Regions from separate parts of the Homo sapiens genome. Here region 2 is linked to region 1. The links are contacts of gene promoters, found by promoter capture Hi-C in human tissues and cell types (Jung and others, 2019). All regions are on one chromosome and are shown on one strand. The core of a region is centred on a gene start or on the middle of the fragment in contact, and the rest is flanking DNA. Distances in the headings are between cores, read along the strand shown. Region 1 holds the start of VRK1 (VRK serine/threonine kinase 1). Region 2 has its middle 14 kb from the start of LINC02325.

Region 1 (3,202 bases), core at 470-2,969:
AGCACTGAACATAACAAGAAGACATTGCACTATAAAACTGGTATTTGTACTGGATACCAGAACTAAATTGACAGTAACGCCTAACACAAGTTTATTGTTATTAAATTCAAGTTGTGTTACTGTATTAACACAGAATCTGATCAGCAATGTTGAGATGTAGAGAATACCATCTGTGGTAGCATCAACAGAGAAAGCTATTATTAAGTGACTACTTAAGTTACATTCCCTTCTATAGGTAACAGATGAACATAATCTTATCTACCCAGAAATTTAATTCCAATCACTACATGCCATTTTGAAGAACATAAACGTAACCTACATAAAATGACTATATAAAGAACCCTTGCTTCCTTCTGAAAATGCTTCAAAATTCTAGATTAAATTCTCCCCCAAAGTATCATGCTCAGCATGTCATAAAGAAAGGTGCCTTTATTGTCAACTCTTGAAAATAAATGCTGCCCTACTTTTTTTTACTCTTGAATTTCAGTCTCAACAGATGGGCAATTCCAGTTTAAAAAAAAAGAAGAAGAAAAGAAAAACACACACACAATAATTAATGAAGTTCTTCAACAGTTCCCTAAAACCAACATCCTCCCAATAGCAAATTGTATTTCCAAGTTGTTCCAAGAAAGGGACACAGGAAAGGGAAGGGAAGAGTCTATACAAAGGAAAACAAAAATGAGTGACTTGAAAGAAAGGACATCAGAAAAATGGGTGGCCTCAACAGGAACCTATAGTGTCTGACTCTGCTGCTGTCTGTCGAATTTAATTCTACCACCTAAGAGTTTTGAGACGAGAACCACAATACTATTTCGGTGGTAGGAAAAACTATGCGTTGCCCCTGAATGGAGCTGCAACAGTAAAGGATGCCACCCTGCCAGGTAAGGACAGAATGAGGAGGAACTGTCAAACGGTTATGAAAGTCCCTTGCAAAACACACAAGCGGCTCTAACTGCCTTGCACCAGACAGACCCTCAAGTACAGGATCACGGGGCCTCCCCGCGATGTGACAGGGAAATAACGGGCGGCCTCGCGGTCCCCAGGCCTGGCTGCTATCCTCAGGGGTCGGCCTCCCCTCTCAGGTCTCAAGTCAAAGGTCACATCCTCTGAGATGCCCTCCCGGATCACCTAACCTAAAGAGCCTCGCCCCCATTCCTCTAGCCCGCAACTGCCTGTCCCGTTTCTAAGAAAGCATTTCCGTATCCGCAAAACATCGCAGCTGCGTGTGTTGTTTCCCTTCTACAGAGTGAGCTCTGCGGGGCAGGGGCCTCGCCTGCGCTGTTCACCCGGAGCCCCGCCTGACAGAACCGGCTTCCCGGTGAGGCCCGAGGCGGCGTTTGCGAGCTCGGCCGCGACACCACGCGCGTCCAGAACGTGGAGCTCAGATGGGGGCCGGCCTGGCCAGTCCAGGCATCCCCGGGGGCGCCTGCGGGGCCTGAACGAGACAAGGAAGGAGCGGACGCCCGCGCAGGCGGAAGCCACGCGGCGGAGCGCGGTCCCGCGGGGCGACCGAGGCTGACGGCGACTCCCGCACCCCGGTGGACCCACAGGCCGCCCGGAAGGCCCAGTGCCGGCCCCAGCCCCGGCCGCCCGCCTCCGCGCCCCCGGCTCGGCGCGCGAGTCCTCGAGCCGTGTCGCCTGCGGCCTCCCTACCCTAAGCCGCAGACCCGTCGCGTTCTGCCCAGTACGAACTTCCCGCCGCTTTCGCCGACTCGTAACTCGGCAGCGGCGCCGGCCCCTTCGCACCCTGCAGTATGGAGCCTTCCCATTGGCTCGGAGGCGACGAGGAGGGGCGGGACGAGTGGTAACGCGAGGCGCGGGGCGGAGGCTACGCTAGCCCCGCGCCTCCCCGGGAATGCCGGGAGCTGTGGTCCAGCGCTCCCAAGGCATCCTGGGAGTTGGAGTCTCTTAGCGGCAAAGGGAGATCCCCGTCCTTCTGCTCCCTGGTCTTCTAGGAAATGTGGTTTACAGCCTTGTTCGTAGTAGCTTGATTTATTAAGTGTATTGGCAGAGAGTTGGGTGTAAAATAAGTTTCCTGTTTCTGTTAGGATTAAATGAAATAATCTATAGGCAGTACTTTAAACTTAGTTGGTGCTCAATAAATAGCAGATAGTGTTAGTATTATTCTGCCCACTCATTGATATGTGTCTAAATCCTACCTGTTTTTCGAAGCCTATTTCAAAGCATATCTCAATGTCTACCTAATCATCTATAGTGTTTCATCTGTAATCAACGTATGCCACAGTTTGCATTGTGTTTATTATTTATTTTTATTTATTTATTTTTTTGAGACGGAGTCTCACTCTGTCGCCCAGGCTGGAGTACAGTGGCACAGTCTCGGCTCACTGCAAGCTCCGTCTCCCGGGTTCACGCCATTCTCCTGCCTCAGCCTCCCGAGTAGCTGGGACTACAGGCGCTCGCCATCACGCCCAGCTAATTTTTTTCTGTTTTTAGTAGAGACGGGGTTTCACCGTGTTAGCCAGGATGGTCTCGATCTCCTGACCTTGTGATCCGCCCGCCTTGGCCTCGCCAAGTGCTGGGATTACAGGCGTGAGCCACCGCGCCCGGCCGCATTGTGTTTATTATAATCAGCTAAGTCTCCATCACCCATGAGGCTGAGAGCTTATTGGGCACTGGGTCATTGTTCTAGGTCAAAATCACTGAAGTCACAGGCAGAGGGAGATTAACAATGAAGCCAATGAAGCGTAAGCTTCAGGACCTCACTTGCGCAGGTCCCTCAATGAGTTTACATAGCTTTGGGGGTTTATTTGTCGATTTTACTTTTCTTTTTCTTTTTTTTAAAGATATAGTCTCACTTTGTCACCCAGGCTGCAATGCATTGGCGCGATCTCGGTTCACTGCAGCCACGACCTCCTGGGCTCAAGCAATCCTCCCACCTCAACCCTCCGAGTAGCTGGGATTACACGCACAGGCCACCACTTCTGGCTAATTTTTGTATTTTTTGTAGAGACAGGGTTTGACCATGTTGCCCAGGCTGGTCTTGAACTCCTGAGCTCAAACAATCCACCCCGCCTCAGCCTCCCAAAGTGCTAGAATTACAGGCATGAGCCACCACACCCAGCTGATTTTTCTTAAAGTAGATCCCCCAAAATTATGTGAGCTTCAGTCCCTACAAAACCTGGAATCACTCTGTCCATTAGACAGGGCAATATTGTGCCTGATGTCTTACATTTTCCCCTCC
Region 2 (3,176 bases), core at 386-2,885, 650 kb before region 1:
TAATAACACTGATCCGTTATTGAGGGCCTACAGTGTGATGGTCACTCATTCACAGTTAATCCTCAGCAGGCTCCAGGTGCTTATGGGTAAAGACAGGAGTCACTAGGCAGGCCAGCAGCATGCCTGGCCTGGGCCTTTCCCACTGGGCATCCTGCCACCACCCACACTGTCATGCCACACAAATGTCTGAGTACATGGGCTGGTCTGAGCCCCCAGGAGACCAAGACCTGCTTGAGCACCAGGAAGCCCGATCCGTCTGGGGGTCCCAGTGCCTGGTACTGAGTTTGGTGCATGGTTGGTGCTCCATAAATGCTTATGGATAGAAAGAAAGAAAAAAAGAAAAAGAAAGGAGGGTGGGAGGGAAGGAGACTGAGTGGAGGGAACATTTGCATTGACTGCCCCTGAGTATTCAAAGCAGCACCTGAAGCACACATCCTTGCAGTGGCAGTAAACAAAGGTAGAGAACAGCCCCTGGATGGTGCACGGTGCTTACGTCCCGTTTCCTCCTGCACTGAGTTGACCAGCTGTATGGAGATGACAACGTGGTCACCAGACCCACTTAGACCTGGACCATATTCCCAGAAAAACAGATGCAGTCGGCCACCATGGCATAGCAGCTATTCCGTAACAGATTAGATGCTGGAGTCCTGGAAAGTCGTTCAAGGAAAAGCTATCTCTTTCTTTCCTCTGGAAACATATCATTAGCCTTTAATTTAAGTCAAGGTGGAAGTAGAAGAGGGCAGTCATTGTAGGAAATCTGAGCAGCGATGCTTTAATCCCATTTAGGGACACTTTGAGCAATGACTTATAGATAATGAGAGATTTTAAATTCTTTGGTCAGTCTCTAGCTAAAGGCTTTTTATGGGGGGAAGAATGAGTAATTCAATGCAGATGATCTAGCCTCTTATAAGCTTTTATTAGTGATTTGTTGGACATGGATAACATAAATTTTGCGACCAATCTATTAACAACCTGAATTGGAAGTTGGTTTTCCTGCCCTCCACAGAGCATTTCAGGAACAAGTGTAATAACTGGAGGATCAATAATTCCTATTTAGTATAGTATGCGAGTTAAGTGAACAGGACCGAAGTATTTCTATTTATTGAATATCGTGTCAACAAATTTCCATTTCAAGGATAATAAAACAAGTTACAGCCAATGTCAAGGTTGTTTATCCATACAAAGCATAAACAATATATTTTACTTTAAACAAAAAAGTGCTAATGTTCTTTAAAATAATCCATATTTTGATCCACTCTGCCAAGTAAAAATAATTTTGCATTGAATCTGTCAGCTGTCAAGACACATTATGTCCCATAAAAAGGACAGCAGCTTTGGGAAGAAAAGCACCATAGTAGTAGACCTCCTCGTTTATTGAATGAAGCATGAGATTAGTTTACTCAAGGTATTCATGTAAACATGGACACTTAAAAAATAAATAGAAAAGAAAGAAAGAGCTAAATTTACCAGATGAGGAAGAAACTTAGCTGCAGAGATATTTCTAACTTATAGTCCTCACACACAGTGTGAGAAGTCTGAAAAATGAAATTTTAGTCATTAGAACCTGACAGCTTCCAGTCATAATATGCTGACATGTGTAACGGGAATTAAGAGATTCTACCAGCGGAATGAACGTTCATAATTTTTTTTTGAAGCAAATCATTTATTTCAGCTCCGTGAATCACAGTGCAGCAGCAGATCACCGGACATTTATAAATGGCATAATACAACTTTCTCAGGCTTTGTGTCCTTTCTTAAGTAGATTCCACTTAGAGACACTAATTACTGGTTGAATGGAAGCACTCTCTGTGAGGCAAAGCAAAGGAGGTCTATTCAGAATGAAAATAAGCTTCCAGGGGCTTCCAGAGGGGCTGGGACCACTGAAATTCTGCTCTTTGGTATCTTGCTAAGGTGATTTTGAGTTTTAATTGGTTCACCTTTTCAGGGAAGGACCACAGCCTCCCCCAATTCACTCATCACTAACAGACACTTATAAGTGTTCTGTGCATCACACATTGTCCCAGCTACAGGAGCACCGAGAGGATTACGAGGAGGACTTCTGTCTCATTTAACTCCTTCTGGGGATGAGGAGAAGAAACATTTACACCAGTAAACACTTGGAGCTGACACAACAGGTCAGAGATTGTCTAACACTGGTGAGCAGGAGCCTCACCTGGAATGCCAAGGTCTCGGTATAAGAAAAGGCCCTGGGGTCAGACTGGCTGGGTTCAAGTCCCAGCAACTCCATTAATAAGCTACGTGGCCCTGGCCGAAGAACTTGACCTCTCTATGTCTTACTTTCTTCCTTGGTCAAATGGAATTGATCACTGGGCTTCTTTCTTAGGGCCCTGGTGAGAATGTAATGAGTTGACTGACATACAGGAAATGTTTCTGGCACATGGTGAGTTGTTGGGTCATAGTATTTATTTGCTGGGACAATGGTGGGAGATGACGAGAAACCACCACAGAAGCTGCTAGGGAGGGACCAGGTGGTCCATAGATTATGAAGTCAAAGAGGGTTATTCTTGAGCCTTAAGATCTAATGGAATTTGCTTGGGACCTGTGGCTCCTGTCTTCTTTCTGATTTCTCCCATAGGATATCTATGCTATGCCTGCCCCACCATTGTATTTTGAAAGCAGAGAACTTGTCTGGTTCTATAAGTTTACAGCTGAAGAGGAATTTTGCCTCTGAATAAATCATACCTTGAGTTTCACCCACATCTGATTTAGATGCTATTTAGGTGAGCTTTTGGACTTAGAGTTGATGCTGGAATCAGTTAACACTTTTGAACACGTTGAAATGGAGTCAGTGTATTTTGCACGCAGAAAGGACATGAGTTTTGAAGGGCCAGGGGACACATTATTATGAGCAAATTGTGTCCCTCCACAAAAAAAAAAAAAAAAAAAAAAAAAAAATTCAAATAGAACAAGTCCTCCCAGTACCTCAGAATGTGGCTGTATTTAGAGATCGAATTTGTAAAAGGGTAATTAAGTTAAAAATGAGTCCACCAATCCAATATGACTGGTGTCCTTATAAGAAGAGATCAGGACACAGATACAGAAAGAGGGATAACTGTGGGAAGACACAAGGAGAAGGCGGCCATCTACAAGCTACAGAGAGAGGCCTCAGAAGAGACCAAACCTGTGGATGCCTGGACCTTGGACTTCCAGCCTCC

The links. The method cuts DNA at HindIII sites, captures the fragments that hold promoters and counts their contacts. A contact is called where the count stands out against the background at its distance.
Region 2: a fragment that was not itself captured here is called in contact with the fragment with the promoter of VRK1 in region 1 in 1 of the 25 tissues and cell types used here (lymphoblastoid cells).

What each region holds. Positions count from the first base shown.
Region 1 is chr14:96,795,899-96,799,100 of GRCh38, reverse strand. It overlaps VRK1 (VRK serine/threonine kinase 1), which reads right to left and starts at 1,719. Exons shown (of 13, transcript NM_003384.3): 1 at 1,654-1,719. RefSeq lists an enhancer at 862-1,393 and silencers at 1,338-1,627, 1,638-1,837. The HindIII fragment of the contact is 7,034 bases long and covers 1-3,202 here.
Region 2 is chr14:97,442,865-97,446,040 of GRCh38, reverse strand. No RefSeq gene overlaps it. Among named protein-coding and RNA genes, the nearest start is that of LINC02325, 14 kb to the left of the region's middle. The HindIII fragment of the contact is 5,085 bases long and covers 1-3,176 here.